Linked DNA regions of Homo sapiens: region 2 is linked to region 1. The links are contacts of gene promoters, found by promoter capture Hi-C in human tissues and cell types (Jung and others, 2019). All regions are on one chromosome and are shown on one strand. Each heading gives the region's core, a stretch centred on a gene start or on the middle of the fragment in contact. The rest is flanking DNA. Distances are from core to core; before and after follow the strand shown.

Region 1 (4,476 bases), core at 1,411-3,910:
TTTTTATGTGTCAAAATAATTTTCACGATTAAATTTAACTTTATTCACAATATTTAGTGAATAACAGATTTCATGTTTTGTGGCCTATATATACATATGTTCTTTATGTTCCAGTGTATAGTATTTTTGTCTCAAACCTATAAGTCAGTAGGTGAAAAGCTCAGGGACGATAATTTTGTAGTTTATCATCACAAAACAGTATATTTAATATTCCAGTCTATGTAATTACACATGCTAGTGTTTTCCCATTGCTCCAGCCAGAGTCTGTGAATGACAAGAGTGTCTTTACAGAGCCTGTAAAGGAATATGGTTCTGGAGAAATCAGTCCAATTATTTTAACAATGCAAGGGCATAACCGATACAAAATAAGCTTGTCAATACGACATCTTCAGAAAAACAAAAACCCACATAGATGCCACTGCTGTTCACAGTTTTGTTATCACGACTGTAATTTTTAAGTCACTATTCTTTTATTAAAATGAACAAAACAAGCCTAACTTTTACATAAATCTGATGGCCTGAAACAGTTTTAATTCACGTTCATAATTACAATCAAAGCTTTTGTGTGTGTGTGTGTGTGTGTGTGTGTGTGTGTGTGAATGAACTGAACATAAATCGTAGGAAGACTTAAAGAGTTAACCGTTTGTAGATGTTCCTACTTGCACATACCACAGGGCTAGGTCAAATCCAAACTGCCAAAGAAAGAAGGCAAGCAAGTTCTCCCTGAAGGGCAGGCCACCATGTGAATAAAACCTCCAGACAGATCATGTTCTAAATGTGCCGCAGCATACCAAAAAGTGAGGAAAATACGGAAACAGAATCATGCTGTTTGACTTCTGCATCGTGTTAACTATTTTTTTTAAAAAACTGCTCTAACTACTAAAGAAGGAAATTATGCTTAGCATAAAAATATTCCAGCACTGAGTGATTGGTACGTTTTACTTCTCTCTTCCAGGGAAACTACTTACACTTATTGATTTTAAACACCTTCACCTCAGCAGCGCATGTAAGTGAGACACTGTAAGTTAACTGTACCTTAAAGAGATCAGTATATAGATGGTTCTGGCGACCAAGATTACAACAAAAGACAAACAACACAGAATTTTTAAAGAGCTGAATAGTCAGTCAAGGATGCATACTCTCAGTCTGGGCTAGCTCTTTTTTGGAAAGGTTGCCAAGAATGTCCTTATTCCCTCCAGAGTTATTTTTCACTCCACTACCTCTGACTAGGTGCATCGCCAGTGCAAGAAAATGCGAGAAGCCTCTGTTTCTGTTGCAAGCAACACCTGGACCTCCAAGGAAAATGAGCACTTTCTTGCTAGGAACAGTCTCAAACATTTTCAAGGGTGAGTCTCCCCTTCTCCAGGTTTAACCCTCTTCCTCCGTAGCTGGAGAGGCTCTCCTACTCGTGCCCGCCGCCTTCTTCCTCCCGGCGAGGATTCCAGGGCCACAACCAGGGCAGCTGCACGCCAGGCCGGCCTGGGTAGCCGGGATGACACCAGGGTTTGCCAACGCCAAACAGGGCGCAGACTCCCCGGCGCGCTCCGGACTCTCCACTCGCCTAAACCTGCTCTCAAGTGAAAAGGAGTGGGAGGAGGAGGATTGGGAGGGGGCGGGGGGCGGAGGGGATCTGTTAATTCGAGGTCCTGGGGGTGTGGGAGCGGGAGGCGGCTCCGCTGATCCCTCCTCCCTCCCCGAGTCCTGGGCTCCACCTCCTCCGCAGGCCCCCAGATATACACACACAGCCGCGGCTGGACATGCACACCCAGTGCCGGCTCCGGGCGCGCACACATGCAGGTAGCCACACTCACCTGAGCCGGTGCAGAGGGCGGCCTGGGCTGGGAAGGGGCCCCCTGCGCCGCGGGAGTGGGGAGAGCGGGAGGTGCCACAGCGCGGACCTGCGAACTGAGGTGATGGCCCGTTTTCCTTAACTCTCCTGCAGCACCTCCGCCCCTGCGCCGGCTCGGCTCTGGCCACAGCAGCGAGGACAGAGGGGCCCCGGGCGCGGCGGACTCGCGGGCGCACGCTCCCAGGAGCGCGCCGAGAGGGGCGCCGCGGCGCAGGAAACTTGGGCGAAGTTAGTTGCAAGTGCCAGGCGGCTGCCGAGAAGAGCGAGGCGGGGACGCGGCCGGTGCCAGGCCTGCGGCGCCGCGTGGAGGCTGCGCTGCCCTCCGCGGCCGGCGAGCTCCGGGAGCCCTAAGTCGGCAGGCGCGCCTGAAGGGGCTCGGAGCGAACAGAGCCGGCATGGCCCAGGGGACGGCCGGACGCGGCTCCTCGGCGAGCCGGGAGAACTTCCTCTGAGGCCGGGCGACCAACGCTTGCTCAAGCCTCATCCACCCTCCTTCCTCGCCCCACCCGTCAGTCCAGCAGCGGGAGAGGAAGACTCGAGAGGCAGGTGCTGCGGGGGACAGCTCCCCCCTCCAAAAAAAAAAAATCACCCAGCCGATTGGGGGTTTCCCATCGGCGCACCCTGCCCGGAGCCAAGAAGACAGGCTGGTGCTGCTGTATTTGTATTTATATCCATTGCTGCGCTCTGCGTTCTCGTGGCACGCCTGGACACTCCTCCGCCTCCCCCTCCTCTTCCTCCTCCAGGGCCACCTCCCCGCCTTCCCCACCCCCATCTGCTTCTGTCAAATGAGAAAGTCACCGAGGAGAACCCAAACACTCCAGCCGCTGAGAGCCCCCTTTGGCACTTGGCAGCACGCGGCGGCGGGCTCCTCGGCTCAACTTCGAGGAGTCTCCGCGACGCAACTTTTGGGGACGCTTTGCATTTAAGAGAGAACGACCGAGGAGGAGGAGCGCTCTGCCCGGCCGCCGCTACCTGCGGGGAGCTCACCAGCAAACGCCACTGCAGACGAAGGACCCAAAGAACGTAAAGGGCAAACTGCCGCCGCGGGGAGGGGGCACCGCCGAGAAGTTAGAGTGTCCCAGAGACAACCTGCTCGAGCGCTCGGCCGGAGACACTAAGGCGGCCCGGGGCGCGGCGTGGCCCTGGGCTGGTCCCCCAGCCCCCTCCTCCGGGGCGGGAGCGACGCCGGGGCGCGACGAGCCCCGGCCGGCCGAGCGGGTCTCCGCGGGCAGCCAACATTGATTTCCTCCGGGCCGAGGGCGAGGGCCCGGGAGGCGGCGGGCTGCAGCCGCGGCAGGGCGAGAGCATGTCCAAGCCGGTGGACCACGTCAAGCGGCCCATGAACGCCTTCATGGTGTGGTCGCGGGCTCAGCGGCGCAAGATGGCCCAGGAGAACCCCAAGATGCACAACTCGGAGATCAGCAAGCGCTTGGGCGCCGAGTGGAAACTGCTCACAGAGTCGGAGAAGCGGCCGTTCATCGACGAGGCCAAGCGTCTACGCGCCATGCACATGAAGGAGCACCCCGACTACAAGTACCGGCCGCGGCGCAAGCCCAAGACGCTGCTCAAGAAGGACAAGTTCGCCTTCCCGGTGCCCTACGGCCTGGGCGGCGTGGCGGACGCCGAGCACCCTGCGCTCAAGGCGGGCGCCGGGCTGCACGCGGGGGCGGGCGGCGGCCTGGTGCCTGAGTCGCTGCTCGCCAATCCCGAGAAGGCGGCCGCGGCCGCCGCCGCTGCCGCCGCACGCGTCTTCTTCCCGCAGTCGGCCGCTGCCGCCGCCGCTGCCGCCGCCGCCGCCGCCGCGGGCAGCCCCTACTCGCTGCTCGACCTGGGCTCCAAAATGGCAGAGATCTCGTCGTCCTCGTCCGGCCTCCCGTACGCGTCGTCGCTGGGCTACCCGACCGCGGGCGCGGGCGCCTTCCACGGCGCGGCGGCGGCGGCTGCAGCGGCGGCCGCCGCCGCCGGGGGGCACACGCACTCGCACCCCAGCCCGGGCAACCCGGGCTACATGATCCCGTGCAACTGCAGCGCGTGGCCCAGCCCCGGGCTGCAGCCGCCGCTCGCCTACATCCTGCTGCCGGGCATGGGCAAGCCCCAGCTGGACCCCTACCCCGCGGCCTACGCTGCCGCGCTATGACCCCGCGGGGCCGCCTCGCGAGGACCGGTGTGCACACGTGTACATATGTATAGGTACGAGCGCTGCGGCCTCCCCGTGCGCCCTCCCGCGACCGGGGGCCCGGTTTGTATGTACATAGAATGTATAGGTGCCAGGTAGAGGCAGAGAGGCCAGGCGGGGCAGGAGTGGCCAAGCGCGCAAGGGCGCGGGCGAGCAGGCCTGTGAATTCGCAGGATCATTTCAGACCCGCACTTCGGCAGCCAACTCGAAAGCAGGCGGTTGTGTGCGGCAGCAGTTGGCGTTTGCTTTGCACTTCGGAACCTGTTGCGTTTTGACCCACGGAGGTGGAGGAGTAACTTTTTGACATGTTGGCCTTTCCAGTTTTGTTGGAAGTTTCATGGTCGGTTTTGTTTTTGTTTCTCATTCTTCTTCCTCGCCCCTCAGCCCCCCAACCCCCAACCCCCTCCCGGTCCGTGTTGCATGCACGCTGTTCAAATGTGAGGTCTGAAAT
Region 2 (4,082 bases), core at 19-2,518, 290 kb after region 1:
TTGGCTAGCAGCTGATCTTGGGTAAGCAAGGTGAGGCAAGGTGACCTCTCAGTGCTTTATTTTGTCCATCTGTAAAATTGGGGAAGGAGGTGTTGGGATTAAATGATCTTGAAGACCCTGTCAAGCTTACAAGGAGAAACTCCGTAATACAACAGAAAGAACACAGAACACTGAACTAAAAGGCAGAGATCTGAGACTAAATTCCTTTTCTAAGCAAGGATTGACTTAATAACATGTATGAAAACATTTAAAAAGTTGCTGGCATGTAGAAGGGGTTCAGTGATCATTCACTGAATCTGAACTAATGTTTGTGAATCTGAAATTTATGTTTTTTGATGATAAAAAGGAATGGAGGACCATTTTGTTTCCATGCAATTTTTGCCTTACTTATCCTCAGAAGCTTTGGCTGACAAAGGTAAATAAAATGGAAAACAGAGAACAATTAAAAACACCAAAAGGACAACAACAAAGCAGAAGGAACACAAGAATCAATAATACTTTGTTCCTAGCACAGTTTAGTTACAGAGTTGGACACTGAATCTAGCTCTGAGTTTCTTAGCAGCTAAATTAAACCTAGGATTGCATCGCCTTCTATAATCAACAGTAGAGCCTCCTTCCGGGAAGCGCATACACTCATTGGTAGGGAAATTTCTTGCACATAACATATAGTTGGTCATGTCATTATGTCATTTGGAACACTGATAACTTTGGGCAGTCTCTTCATTCATGGTTTGGTAATTTATTGTGAACCAAAAAAACCACAAAGATGGAGTAAAGTGTTTTTGCTTGTTTTTGGATTCAGAGAGTGGGAAAACAAAAGTGTTTTTTTTTGTTTTTGTTTTTTTTTTTCTTTTTTTTGAGACCGAGTCTCGCTCTGTCGCCTAGGCTGGAGTGCAGTGGCACAAACTCGACTCGCTGCAAGCTCCACCTCCCAGGTTCACGCCATTCTCCTGCCTCAGCCTCCTGAGTAGTGGGGACTACAGGTGCCTGCCACCACGCCTGGCTAATTTTTTGTATTTTTAGTAGAGACGGGGTTTCACCGTGTTATCCAGGATGGTCTCGGTCTCCTGACCTCGTGATCCTCCTACCTCAGCCTCCCAAAGTGCTTGGATTACCAAAAGTGGTTTTAATATGTAATAATATTATTAGCTGGGCACATACCAGCATGCCCAGCTAATTTTTTAATTTTTAGTAGAGACGAGGTCTTGCTAGCCTTGGCTTCAAGGAGTGTAGGGAAAAGCATGAGATCAAAAGTAACCTTAGTTCTCCTTAGCTTTTGGGAACTCTTATATTACTTTTGAACAAAGGACAGTCTCTACTGTTTAGCCCTCAGTTATGAGAATTTCATTAGTCCTGGTGTGAAAACAGAAACAATATTCTTAAGGTATAAAGGCACTACACAACTTGAATGCTTTAAACAGGTTGAGCATCCCAAATCTAAAAATCCCAAATCTGAAATACTCCAAAATCTGAAAACTTTTGAGTGCCGACATGATGCTACCAGTGGACAATTCCACACCTGACCTCGTGTGACAGGTTGCAACCAAAATGCAGATGCACAACACATAGTTTGTTTAGCAACGCCAAGGAAAAAGACCCTCCCATCCCCCTTCGGCTGCAATATATCTTTTCTGAACATACCCAGATTCTCCTATGCAAGCACACCCACAAATGGTGGTAAAATGGTTCAGTGTACACAAACTTTGTTTCGTGTACAAAAATATTAAACATATTGTATGAAATTATTATTGGACATACAGACTATGTGTTTAAGGTGTCTATGAAATATAAATGAATATCATGTTTAGACTTAGGTCCCCGCCATGAGCTATCTCATTATGTATATGCAAGTTTTCCAAAATTAGAAAAAATCTGAAATCCGAAACACTTCTTGTCCCAACCTTTTTTTCTTTTCTTCTTTTTTTTCTTTTTTTGTGACAGGGTCTCACTCTGTCACCCAGCCTAGAGTGCAGTGGTGCAATCATGGCTCATTGCAGCCTCAACTTTTTGTGCCCAAGCGATCCTCCCACCTCAGCCTCCTGAGTAGCTGGGACTACAGGCATGCACCACCATGCCCAGCTATTTTTTTTTTATTTTTACTAGATATGAGGTCTTGCTATGTTGCCCAGGCTGGTTTTGAACTCCTGAGTTCAAGTCATCCTCCTGCCTCAACCTCCCAGAATGTTGGAATTACAGGTGTGAGCCCTGGCTCCTGACCCCAAGCATTTTGAATAAGGGTTACTCAATCTATATATAGAAATGAGTCGTCTCCTCCATTTTGCCCCTGAAAATATTTAACAGAACCTCTCCTTCCCCTTCATACACTATCATATAATTTTTTAAAAAATTCTGAAAGATATTATGATTATGTTTCAAGCATTAATGAAAGATGTGGTGGGTTCTTACTAGACTCTTGATTTAGGACTTTATATGCCTTCAGGGAAAGAAAGCAGGGTTTGAAGAAAAGGTAAAATGGGGAGGAAAGTTAAATGACCCAAAAGTCAACTTGAACTTTATAAAGTACTGTACACATGTATTGATTATTGATGCTGTGTAACAAATGGACACAAACTTGAAGGTGCAAAACAACAAACATTTATTATCTCACAGTTTCTGTGGGTCTGGAATCCAGGCACAGAATAGCTGGATTTTCTGCTCAGGGTCTCACAAGGCTGCAATGAAGGCAGCAGCCAGGGCTGATGTCTCATCAGAGGCTGGACTGGGGAAGGGTCTGCTTCCCAGCTCACATGGTTATTGGCAGCATTCAGTTCCAGTGGCCTGTTTGACTGAAGGCCTCAGTTACTTGCTGTTTGTCATCTGGATGCTACTGGGCCTTACCAACATTTTTGCTTGTTTCTTTAAAGCTAGCAAGGGGGAGAAACTTTTGGCAAGATAAGTATCACAGTCTTATATAACATAATTTCATAATTCACACACCTCATGTACTTGCTTTTACCTTTGCTATTTTCTGTTGGTTAGTGATATGGTTTCACTTGAGGAATTCTTCCCTGATATGTTTTGGCTCTGTGTCCCCACCCAAATCTCACCTGGAATTATAATGTCCACAATAGCCTCATGTCAAGGGTGGGATCAGATGAAGGCAATTGCATCATGGGAACAGTTTTCCCCATACTGTTCTAGTGATAATGAGTGAGTCTCATGAGATCTGATGGTTTTATAAGCATCTGACATTCCTCTGCTTGCACTCATTCTCTGTCCTGCCACCCTGTGAAGAGGTGCGTTCCACCATGATTATAAGTTTCCTGAGGGCTCCCCAGCCATGCAGAACTGTGAGTCAATTAAACTTCTTTTCTTTGTAAATTACCCAGTCTCAAGTACTTCTTCATAGCAGTGTGAGAAAGGACTAATACAGTTAGAAGTAAGTGAAAGGTGCCATGCACATTCAAGTGGAAGGGACCACACAGGGGCATGAAACTGGAGGCAGGAACCATAGGGACCACCTTAGAGTCTGTTTGCCACAAGACACAACTATATATAGCAATCCATTTCAAATTTAAAAAGCACAAATGATTTTGGAAGGACAATCAAATCTGCAAAGCCAAACCATCAATTAATAACCATGTCTGGCCTCTGCTTTCTTACTCTTCCTTCCATCCACCTTTCAGAGCCTTCCGCCAGCATTATCCTCCCTTTGGTTTTTCTCCTCTCACTACCTGCACTCACAGTTTCTGGAAATTGCTTCCTCTCATTTTCTCAAGTTTAAACTCTCATTCTCACCTACAGAGTTCAAATAACGGCACCTCACATGAAATCCCCTATCCTCCCTCATTGTCAAAGGTACTTGTGTGGCTGCTTCTAAAACAGGCTCTTTTCCTTCCTCCTTCCCTTGTTATGTTTATCACCCTGACCCAACTTCAATCTTTCTGCTTTGAGCAGTTTTTCACTTTATACGCTGGAAATCCTCTCTTTTCTTCAAATCATTCCCTACAGGCACCATTGATTTTGAAACACCTGCTGATGTTCATCTCTTTCTAAAGGTGTATGTATTTTTCAGAGCTGAGCTGATCTGTGTGGCATCTCACTCAGATCCAGATTTCAGATTTCTTTCTTCCTTTTTTTTT

What was found. The method cuts DNA at HindIII sites, captures the fragments that hold promoters and counts their contacts. A contact is called where the count stands out against the background at its distance.
Region 2: a fragment that was not itself captured here is called in contact with the fragment with the promoter of SOX21 in region 1 in 1 of the 25 tissues and cell types used here (lymphoblastoid cells).

The regions. Positions count from the first base shown.
Region 1 is chr13:94,710,729-94,715,204 of GRCh38, reverse strand. It overlaps SOX21 (SRY-box transcription factor 21), which reads left to right and starts at 2,660. Exons shown (of 1, transcript NM_007084.4): 1 at 2,660-4,476. The coding sequence starts at 3,156. The coding sequence ends at 3,986. It overlaps SOX21-AS1 (SOX21 antisense RNA 1), which reads right to left and starts at 2,489. Exons shown (of 2, transcript NR_046514.1): 1 at 1,812-2,489; 2 at 1-1,567. It overlaps LOC112268114 (a long non-coding RNA gene), which reads left to right and starts at 1,762. Exons shown (of 2, transcript NR_158368.1): 1 at 1,762-1,797; 2 at 1,943-2,485. RefSeq lists an enhancer at 1,435-1,936. The HindIII fragment of the contact is 11,141 bases long and covers 1-4,476 here.
Region 2 is chr13:94,420,199-94,424,280 of GRCh38, reverse strand. No RefSeq gene overlaps it. Among named protein-coding and RNA genes, the nearest start is that of DCT, 57 kb to the left of the region's middle. The HindIII fragment of the contact is 3,916 bases long and covers 1-3,226 here.